3 separate regions of the Homo sapiens genome follow, and all the other regions are linked to region 1. The links are contacts of gene promoters, found by promoter capture Hi-C in blood cells and fetal thymus (Javierre and others, 2016). All regions are on one chromosome and are shown on one strand. The core of a region is centred on a gene start or on the middle of the fragment in contact, and the rest is flanking DNA. Distances in the headings are between cores, read along the strand shown. Region 1 holds the start of CNTLN (centlein). Region 2 overlaps CNTLN (centlein). Region 3 has its middle 73 kb from the start of SH3GL2.

Region 1 (3,739 bases), core at 1,187-3,686:
TTTTCAGCAGTTTTAATGCTATGTATTCTTGGGTACTGTGATCTCTAGCTGAATAAATAAGCGGGAGAGTATACTTTAAAAGATATAAAAGTGAATATTTAATCACCTAAATGCTTTTTACAAAACAATTGGGAGTTCAATTACTATTTTTCCCCAAGATTCCCGAAGAGCAGGAGTCTGATTTGACTAAGATTTTTATGGTGCGGGATACTGCCTACAATTATATAAGAGTATTAATATTACAAAATCTAAGAGATCATCATTCTAGACTATTATGACCATCTCTGTATTCTTACATTTGCCAAGAGTATGTCAATCATTTTCCTAGTCTATATATGTCCGAGGTCACAAAAGCCAACACCATGTTTGGAGCCACATTTTTAAAGAATGTAAGTATTTGTGGGAAGAGGTTCATCAGGCTGTTTCCAATAGACTGACTTCCTTAACCAAGTCGGTCATAAAAAAGTATCTTAGCTCTTTAGCCAGCTAAAGGCCTAACTATGTGGGGAGGCAGAAGTGGGAGGAAAGAGTGCGGAAAATATGCCAAAGAGTGTCTTAGATTAGGACTCAGAGTATCAAAGGCCTTTATCATGGGTTCACATCTTAAAACTCCCCAAAGGGTGAGGTCTGCAGATGACAAATGCTTCAATTCATTGTTGTCATTTATTTATCCCTTTGCTCCTTATCCAACGAAGAACAGAAAAATGGTAAAACGAAAAGAGGGCACCATATTAAATGTCCCAACCTTGTTTAACCAAAGGCACATTCAATTTGAAGATGGTCCCATTTTTACACCCTTCACTCAGTCAGCAAGGACCTATAAAATGGGCAAAAGAATCCAACAGAACAAACTATGAGAGAATGAATTTCTGTAATCCCAGCACTTTGGAAGGCCAAGGCTGGCGGACCACGAGGTCAGGAGATCGAGACTGTCCTGGCTAACACGGTGAAACCCCATCTCTACTAAAAATACAAAAAATTAGCCAGGCGTGGTGGCGGACACCTGTAGTCCCAGCTATTCGGGAGGCTGAGGCTGGAGAATGGCGTGAACCCGGGAGGCGGAGCTTGCAGTGAGCTGAGACTGCACCACTGCACTCCAGCCTGGGCGACAGAGAATGAATTTCATGAACTGTTTTATTAAACTGATGATACTGTTCACAAAGTTACTTTGATGTTCAGCAGCTCCTAATTGGTTTCTAAGTTGAAGACAGAGTGACTTAAAGATCTACTGTTCAGTGAGTTTCCCACATCCAATCTCCCAACCCTATCTAAAGGTTCTGGTAAAATCAAAAGAGATGATGGTAAGGATGCAAAACTAAAGGAAAATTCAATCTCTTTGAACATGAGTATAGTCAAGTCCATCCTTACAAAAACTCTACAAACAGGAAAGTAATTTTAATGCAATTGATTTAGCAAATGTTTTTCACTGGCAAGATCACATGAAAATGTGATTTCTCACTCAAGGACCGCGGAATTACCATAGCTGGTTAATAAACAAGTACCAAGCATCATCTATTGTTAAGTTCCCGGCTCTGAGACTTTCTAAACGTTACTCGTCTGTGTTTACAACTTAAGTTTGACTGGGTAAAAACAAAGCCAAGTGTGGGTTTGAAATTTTAAAAACAGGCTCCTTCATCGATGGATTTTACTCTAACCGAAGTGTTTACACTTTCCTGTTCATTTCAACTAGTGGACTGCATGTCACTCCTGGGCCCCCGGCAGGTATCAGCTACCGTCACCACCAAGAACTTGGGCTTGGGGGGGAAGCGGAGAGGATGCGACTGCGAGTATCCAAGTGACCAAAACCAAACCCGGGCGCGGAGGCGAAGCCTGTCTGGCCGCAGTTCGGAAAGGGGCAGGGGCCCGGGTTTGGGGAGCCGGGCGCAGCCGCGTCCCTCCAGCCCCCGGCCGCGAGCGAAGCAGGGTGTGCATCTGCCAGGGAGCGTCGCTGGGCGGGGTAGGTCCCAAGGCAGAGGGAGAAAGGCGCGCCTCCCCACGGGTCCCGGCCCCGCTGTGGTGGGGAAAGGGGGACTGCGAGACTCCTCGATACCTGACACAGGGCCAACTCCTCCTTTAGGCTGCTCAGCTCTTCCTCCAGCAGCTGCGTCCGGGTCACCATCGCCTCCTCTACCGAGATGCCCTCTAGCCGTCTGGACCCCATGGGCGCGCTGAGGAGGGGAGCATGAGCCGGAGCTGCCCCCCCAGGCCCTCGCCGGCCCCCTGACCCTTCTTCACCCACCCAGATTTTATCACTTTCGTCCGCGACCACCTCCCGCGCTGCGCCGGCAAAACCCGAGGCCTCGCTGCGCATTGCGTGTACTTCAGCTCCCCGCCCAACACGTGGGGACCTGGGGCCCAGCTGTCGCGCTGGGGGCGAAGGGTGCGGTGAGGGAGGCGAACGCGCCGCCATGGCTGCGGCTGCTAACGGGTCAAGTTCCCTGTTGGAAACTCCACCTCCCTTTCCCCAACCCGGCGAGCCCGGAACGCCGAACCGCGCATGCGCGAGGCTTTTCCCGCCTTGGCCCGCGGTGTCCCGTGTTCTCTGGTCCTGGCCGGCTTCCCGCGGGCAATGCGCCCAGCGCGAGCCTTGGGGTACGCACGCGCCGTGGCCCGAAAGGGTAAGGCCGGTCCGCCGGGCAGGCCATCCCAGCGTCCTGTGCCTGAGTCCTTGGCCAGGATCGCCTGGATTTCCCGCCCACCTAAAGCCCTGCCTGCCACTTACATCCCACCTCTTAAAGCCTTCCTTGACAAGCCCCCAGCCCCAAATGATCCTTAACTGTGAAATCCCTCTCCTTCAAGGCCCCTGCCAACTCGTGTGACACGTTTCATTGACCGCCCTGGAGTGTCAGTTACACGGCTAATCTCCCCAGCCCTGTTGTAAGCTCCTTGAGGATCAAGGAATACGTTTTACACTTAAGTGTTTTCTTCACACCCCTTGGCAAAACTGCTTTAGTACAGCTGACATCCAGCTGACTAATGTCAAGGAGATGTGGAAAGCCTTGTGCTGATCTGGGACTATCAAGCAGGTTTCCAACTTGAATGATGATCCTTTGTACACCCTTTGTCTTTTGTTTTGCAGGAGTCATGATTTCCTTTGAGTTTTTATGTCAGCTTCTTTATGCGTTGGCTGGATATCAGAGGAAGTGTAGCCCACATTGCTGAACAGTTTGGGTCCTTGGAGCAGTTTGAAATCAGTAATTTGGAGCGTGGATGAAGAAACAAGACCTACTTTATCTTTTGTTCTCTTTTTTTTCTTTTTCTTCTGGCTTTCTTTATAAACTTCAAATAGGTAGTAATCGTATCTTTCTTTGCCCTTCAAATACTTTGTTACTATTGATAAGATTAATGAGATGCATATTGAGCTGGCACCAGAACATCCCTGAAAGTTAGAACTGCCCTCTTCTTCAGAAAGGGTTCCAGAATACTTGGGGAAAGCTGAGATGGGGGTTGAGAGCAGAAGTAGAGAGATGACCACTTTACTGTTAACTTCATTTAACCAAAATATCACCATCTCTGCATGAGAATCTAGTCAGGATGCCAAAAGACACCCTCCCAATTAGAATCCTGCCAAGGCAACCAAGATAAGTGGACTTCTTTCAAACTGAAGGTGAATTCCTCACAAAAACTTATTAAAGAGTACATTAGAAAAAGTATGTTTATAAGCCTGTCTTAGAACTAGCTAACCTACTGAACATTTACCATATGCTGAGTCCAGTGCTAAGCACTTTTCATATATGAA
Region 2 (3,522 bases), core at 427-2,926, 350 kb before region 1:
CCCTGATAATCTCAGGATTTGATCACATACAGCACCCAACACACAGAGAGGACATAAAAGAGAGGTTTTCCAATAATTTTATCAAAATATTTGAATAAAAAAATCAACATTGGACTAATTAGTAATTTTTAGAAAATGTCTTCAGTTATTCCACAATGTGAAGATGATGTAAGCTCATACCCAATGAGCAATAAGCCATAAACTAAACAAAATGTATGAATGAACATATTTACACTTTTGCCCATACAATCCTGTGAGTGTAACTCAGACTCTAAAAAAAGGCTGGTGGGCAAAGAAAACCTTTTCTAAAATTCAGGACAAATATAATTGCTTGGATTGAGAGAGAAGAAAAGTAGGCTAAAAAAAAAAGGTGTTTTCTATTTTATAGATTTTTCTCTTGGGTGTAATTATAAAGTGACATTCAAGTGCAACCAATGAAGTACCTATTTGTTCTCTCACAAAATTCAAAGACATCAGCAAAACCACCTATGTCAGTAATAAAAATAAAAAGTCTTTGACTTTTTAAATGTTATCATACTGTCACAGTGGAATAAAATTAGCTTGAAAAATGATCTAAAGGCACATGATGCAGTTCATTACGTATAACAGCAACAGCAGCGGTTTCCCAGTGTTCATAAAGGCTGCTCCATTAAATTTACCTCCAGTCAATAATTAGGAGTCCACAAATAAACCTGGGCAATTAAATCAATACTGCCTGGCAATTATATTCCAGAGTCCAGGCTCAGTGGCACAAAAAGGCACTATATCAAGCTGCAGTATTAAGCAGTCTGATGCCATTTTCAACAGAATTTTTTTATACTCACTGGACAGAATAAGCATACATTCAGCTAATGCAGAATGTATGTATATACCTCTCCACGTGTTAACCAAAAAAACTCAGGTCCAGTGTCAGTACAGTTTTAGTAAAATTTAACAAAGCTTTACACGTACAGATTTATTATTTTTATAGTCATAATTATGATAAAATTTCTAATTCAAATAAATACAGGCCATATTTACAAAGTGAACATTTTAAAAATTCATTAAAAAGTTTATTTTTATCATTTTCAAGTTGAAAAGAAAAACCTCATTACAATCATTATTGAATTCTTTGATGTGTCAGCCACTGAGCTAGGTTCTGGGAGTACCACATGATTAAGAAATGGCCTCTGTTCTCAAAAGCAAGTAGTCAGTGTAAAAGGCTTTGTCTAGCACCTGCACATCTACACTTAAACAACTTTCAGCAAATGATTTTTAATCACCTATTGTTATTAAAGTGATTCCAGACAATGTTTCAAAAATATATCAAACTGATACTAACATGAATTGTTGATATACTATTTATTTATTCTCGACTTTACTAAAAGCACGGAAACTGATACTTGTTAATATAAATGTAAAATAATTGCATTTAATATCAGTTTCTATTTTTAATCTTTACACAGAAACATTTACAATGACTTTCCAAAAATCACAGGACAATTTTTGGGGTATTTTGACAAATATGTTTTGGCTTTTATTTATTCCAGTCCATTTAAAAAATAAAAAATTAGGTTAAGCCGAAAGAACTATAATGAAAAAGTTTTAGAATACATTACATGCTGTCAGTGATGTCAAAACAAAAGCTGGCTATGACTAGAAAAGCAGGGCTCTCACCTGCCAATAAACTGCCCTTGATCACTTACAAGAGGGGCGCATCCCAGCAGACTATATGTGTATTAAAAAAATACTTGAAAGGGAAGAAAAAGTATCACACAGGTCACAGCAGCAGTCTCAACAGACCCCTCAGGGATTTCAACTCGTCTTGGCCTTGTCATCCTCTATGCAGCTTTCCACTCGGCCCAGAAAATGTCGATAGGAAAATGTTTGAGGGGCCTCTGGTGGAAATTTTTTCATTCTTTCTGCATTGACAGGATGCCAAATCAATATTTACTTCCCACTAACAAGCTGCTCGAGGTCTCAGTAGAAAATATTGTAGAGAATGCGGGAAGACACAGTAATAAACAGCTGTCTGGCTGTGAGGAAAACATGAATTGACTGGAAACAGGTCCATAGTAAAAGGTCACTGAAACCCATGAACTCCTCAGGTGTCCATATCAAATACTAACTTTAAAGACACATAATAAAGAATCTCTTTTCCTAAGAGGTCTGGGAGAATGGATCCTTTTCAGTCTAGCAAGCACAGAGGTTGACTCAATAATTTAATTAATGCATTTGCTAAGACCCATGTTGGCTCTATCCCAAGGTATTTGTTTCATTTGTTAAGTCCCAAAGTACAAATAGAGGGTTAACTTTCCTTTCTACCTATTGGAATACTTCTTTACCTAACAGAAGTAAACAATGGGGAAGTGTTTACAAAAAGTTAGACATCTGGTGAAAATGTAAGGCTTGGAATTCTTATTTGGAAGCTTAATATATGAAACAGAAAAATGAAATACCTGTCCTTCAAGAAGTTTCTGAATGTACAACATCCATTCCTTGTCATTTTCAGCATCAATTTTTGTTTTTTCAATTTCCTGAAGAAAAAAAATAAAAACACTGGTGTTAACGAAATTTATATGAACTTGTTTATACTATTAGATACTGAATAAATCTGGAGTAATATCAGTAGAATTAGATTCAACAAAGAACAGTCTGTCATCTCAAAGTAGAAATATTTAAGTCCATGCTCTTTAAAATTTAATTTATCGATACGTACTACGGAAGATATAGCTATATTTATATACTTCACAGTAATTCAGAAATATTTAATTTCTACCTTCACAGTGGAGCTCAAAGTAGGGGCTAATATGGGGGTGAAAGCAATTAAAGTGAAAAATCAGATGGAGTTATATAAAAGAATCATTTACAGGTGACTCTCATGAGATAATACAAAACCTAATATTCCAAAATCTGACTTGTCAGCAGATAACTAAGGAGTAATTGTTCATTACAAACAGAATAGAACATGGCATGACTCCGGTATATTTAAATGCTTGTTGATTCAAACTATCCAATAATCTACTGATAGGCCAGGGACACTCCAACTTAAAGTGCTATAGGTCACAAAGTATTTTCAACCCATCAATTATCATGACAGAATATTTCTGGAATTGAAATGTATTCACACGTACAGTTGATGATTCACTTGAAATTGTAATTTCAGTTTACGAAAAAAAAAACTGACTTTCCAAGAAGGGAAGGGCGTGAGAAACTATTATTTGTTGAAATTTACTGTATGGCAGGCATCATGCTAGGCACTTCAGATAGGCTATCACAGTTTCTGATGTGAATTTACTACAGTTCGATATAGTGTAAAGAACATAAATCAGGTGATCTGGGCTCTGCTTGGGCAAATCCTTGGACCTCTGGAAGATGACAGGATCAGTCTAAATAAGCTCTGGTCTATAATGAAATCTAGTAAATATATCAAAATGTACCTATCCCTCTTAGAACAGTGTGTTTATATCTCTTATTCTTTCAGGAGGGACTTGATTTAAGATTGTGTGACATGCATATTACAGTGCTGTGTACTCTTGTCTT
Region 3 (4,006 bases), core at 144-2,643, 370 kb before region 1:
AGAGTACAGAAGGCAGGGGCACCACCTTCTTTTAAATTATCCCTAATGATCATTTCCTAGGTGAAAGGAAAGTTGAATGTGGCAAAAAGTGTTGGAAGGAGCTGATGTCAAAACTCTGGTTTTGTAGACTGTGTCTGCTGAAGAAAGAAGGAAACTGAGGATTGGACTATGCGCAGAAGTGTTTGTAGTGTCTACCATTCCTTGGTGAGCAGAAAAAAATTTCTGATCAAATATGTCTGTGTATTTAAAAATTAAAAGTCGAAGCTTTTTTAAAAAATCATCTTTTTGATGAAAGATTTCATGTCACAGGCAACAAAAAAGTCATTTTTATCCATTATATTAAGCCACTTATATAAATTTGTGTTAATACCAAAGGCAGTTACGTGCATGGAAATGTAGGAATTAGAAATAGCAACTCTTCGAACTAAAAACCGAATTACTATTTGACCCAGTAACCCAATTAGTAGTTATATATGCAAAGGAAAGTAAATCATTCTATTAAAATGATATCTACTTTTGTATGTTCATAGCAGCATTCTTCACAATAGCAAGGATATGGAATCAACCCAAGTGCCTATCAATGGTGGATTGGATAAAGAAAATGTGGAAGATATATACACCATGGAATACTATGCAGCCATAAAAAAGAACAAAAGCATAGCCTGTGCAACAGTGGAAATGGAGCTAGAAGTCATTGACCTAAGCAAATTAATACAGAAACAGAAAACAAAATACCTCATGTTCTCATTTAAAAGTGGGAGATAAACATTGGGTACACACAAATACAAAGATGGAAACAATAAGCACTGGGGATTCCAAAAGTGGGGAAAAGGAGGGAGAGAGGGTTGAAAAACTATGTATCAGGTACTGTTTGCTACTTGGGTGATGAGATTATTAGAAACTCAAAGCTCAGAATCATGCAATGTATTCATTTAGCAAACCTACACACGTACCCACTGAATCTAAAATAAAATAAAGACAGGATTTTGAATGTTCTTAAGACAAATAAGTAATAAATGTTTGAGGTGACAGATATAATTACCCTGATTTAATTATTACCCAATGTACGCATGCATTGAAACATTCTATTTTACCCCATACGTATGTAAAATTATGTATCAATTAAAAATTTTTTAAGAGGAAAAAAATAGCAACTCTTCTGCCCATGTATCTCATGAACTCTTCTGAACATAGGCCAATAAAAGGCTCTCTCAAATGTTTTCTGGTACATTTTGTTGTTTTTACAGTTATTTGAGAACATTAAGTAAGCTTCTCTTGTTGTGGCTACAAATTTATTATAGTAATTTTCACTTTCGACCCTCTAAATCCAAAGGTCATTTTTGCTACTGGGAAGAATCCTGCATAATATGGAGAAGAAATTAAAATAGGCAAAGCTGTCAGTAGATGAGTAAGGGCTAGCGTTGAAGAATGAAATTCACTCTTTCCGCTGTCCCATATTCTGAAACACACATAAACATGACAACTTTCACTTATAGCAGCCATAGCCCCAAGCTTATTTCATAATTTCCCAGGATATAAATAAATGTTACTCACAGAGGACTGCCTTGTTGTTGTTTACTGTTGAGTTTTGGGAATTGTTTATTTTAGATATGAATCCTTTGTCAGTGATTTGCAAATGTTTTCTCCCAGTCTGTAGCTTGTCTATTCCCAGGGTGAAAGTTTTTAATTTTGATGAAGTAAAACTTATCAATTTTTCTTTTTTGCATCATGCTTCTGGTGTCATGGCTAGAAATTCTTCACCAAATCTGAGGTCCTGAAGATTTTCTCTCATGTTATATTCTACATTTTACATTTAAATGTTGACCCATTTTGATGTAATTTATGTCTGAATGTGTGATGTGTGAGGTTTAGGTCAAGATTTTTTTTTTTTTTTAACCCAAGATGCCCAACTGCTTCAGGACCATTTGTCAAAAAGGTGATTATGCCTCTATTGAATTGCTTTTGAACCTTTGTCTCAAATCAGTTGGGCATATTTGCTTAGGTGTATTTCTTGGTTCTCTATTCTTTTTCATTGATTTATTTGTCCAGCCCTCTACCTGCCAGCACCACACACTCCTGATTAGTGTAGCTATTTAATACACCTTGAAACTGGGTAAAGTGATGTCTCCCACTATTATGCTCTTAGTTTTACTTAAAAGCTATTCTAGTTTCTGAGTTCCCATATACATTTTAGAAAAATGTTCTCTATTTCCTAAATCTCTTGCTGTGATGTTGGTAGGAATTGTGTTAAATCTCTATATAAATTTGGAGACAGCTGGCATCTTTAACATAAGTATCCTAACCCATGGTCTTACTATGTCTCCTAATTTATTAGATCTTTTTCATTTCTTTCGCTAGTGTTTTATAATTTTCATACACAAGTACTATGCATGTTTTGCAGGTTTTATACCTAAGTATTTCTCTTTTTCGGGAAATTGTACATTGTATTGTATTTTTAATTTCATTTTCCACATTTTTTTACTAGCTTACTAGTGTATAGAAACACAATCTTTCCATGTTGATTTTGCATCTTGAGATCTTGCTGGACTCATTAATTCTGTAAAGTTTTTTGTTTTTGTTTTGAGTGGTTATTTTTCTTTTTCCTTTCCAATCTGGATGCCTTTTATTTCCTTTTCTTGCCTTATTAGGCTGGCTAGAATTTCCCACGTTATGTTGAGAGAGAGTGGTGAGAGTTGAAATCTTTGCCTTCTTCCTGATTATAGGGGGAAGTGTTTGGTCTTCATCATTACATACAATGTTAGCTGTAGGCTTTTAAAAGATGGTCTTATCAAATTGAGAAGTTCCTATTTATAGTTTTCTGAGTTTTTTTTAAAATAAATGAGTGCCAATTTTTGTCACATGCTTTTTCTATATCAAATTTTATGATTGTGGGGTATTTTTAGCCTCTTAATATGGTGGTTTACACTGATTGAACCAGCTTTGATTGTGTATCTTTTGACCAATATCCCTCATGAACATAGATGTAAAACTTCTAAACAGATTTCTGGCAAATTCTATTTGTTTTCTATTGTTGCAGTCACAAAGTACCACAAACTTAGTGGCTTAAATTAGATAAAATGTATTATCTTACAGTTCTAGATGTCCAAAATCAGTTTCACTGGGGTAAAGTCAAGGTGCTGACAGGACTGAGCTTTTCCTAAGGCTCCAGGAAGAATCTGTTTCCTTGCCTTTTCTGGTCTCCAAGGGCCATCCACATCCTTTGGCTCATGGCCGTTTCCTCCATATTTTAAGCCAGTACTGTGGCATCTTCAAATTTCTCTTTCTACCTCTCTGGTAACATTATTCTCTCTCTCTGACTCTTCCTACCTCCCTCTCATAAGAGCACTTGTGGTTTCATCAGGCTCACATCGGTAATCCAAGATAATCTTCCCATTCAAGATCCTTGACTTAATCATATTTGCAAATTTCCTTTTGACATATAAAGTAACACATTCGCAGGTTTCGGGGACTAAGGAGTGAACATCTTCAGGGGCCATTTCTCAGTCTACCATATTTTCTTTTTTTGTACACTGTCTTTGTTTAGTCTTGGTATCAAGGTCATACTAGCAGTCTCATTTTTATCTTTGTAATAAAATTCTGTCGTAATGAGGTATTACATTTTAAGTTTTGTAATTTTTTATTACTCGTGCTTTCCTGTGAGTTGGGAATATTGTGATGAATGCTTAGTATGGTAATGTTTTAATTGCATTCTTTGGGTATACAGTGTCATCACATAATAAACACAATGCTTCGCCATCCAATTCAATAACAAAATCCACACTTCATTGTGCCTTAAGTGTGTGACATTTGATGGTCATTTCTTTCTTCTTTTCCTGTTTTGACATGAAAAGTGTGTACTGGTATTTTTTTTTTAATTGCAGTAAGGCAGTATTTGTGTCACCTAAAATTCTGTCAAGTTGTAACTGTGTCATTGTTATCTGTAGCATTCCAAGCAGGAGAGAAGCACAGTCTCTTCCATTAACTACTATTCATCTACACTCATGTA

The links. Contacts are between HindIII fragments. The CHiCAGO score rates a contact against its expected background, and 5 or more counts as called.
Region 2: a contact is called between a fragment that was not itself captured here and the fragment with the promoter of CNTLN in region 1, in 5 of 17 cell types (monocytes, erythroblasts, M2 macrophages and 2 more). The highest score is 11.1, in monocytes.
Region 3: a fragment that was not itself captured here is called in contact with the fragment with the promoter of CNTLN in region 1 in 1 of 17 cell types (monocytes); the score reaches 5.5 in monocytes.

The regions. Positions count from the first base shown.
Region 1 is chr9:17,133,737-17,137,475 of GRCh38, reverse strand. CNTLN (centlein) reads right to left here and starts at 2,436. Exons shown (of 26, transcript NM_017738.4): 1 at 2,051-2,436. The coding sequence starts at 2,410. RefSeq lists an enhancer at 1,592-2,155. The HindIII fragment of the contact is 13,995 bases long and covers 1-3,739 here.
Region 2 is chr9:17,485,983-17,489,504 of GRCh38, reverse strand. CNTLN (centlein) reads right to left here. Exons shown (of 26, transcript NM_017738.4): 25 at 2,439-2,516. Among named protein-coding and RNA genes, the nearest start is that of SH3GL2, 91 kb to the left of the region's middle. The HindIII fragment of the contact is 1,469 bases long and covers 942-2,410 here.
Region 3 is chr9:17,503,968-17,507,973 of GRCh38, reverse strand. It overlaps a transcript of CNTLN not described here. Among named protein-coding and RNA genes, the nearest start is that of SH3GL2, 73 kb to the left of the region's middle. The HindIII fragment of the contact is 243 bases long and covers 1,272-1,514 here.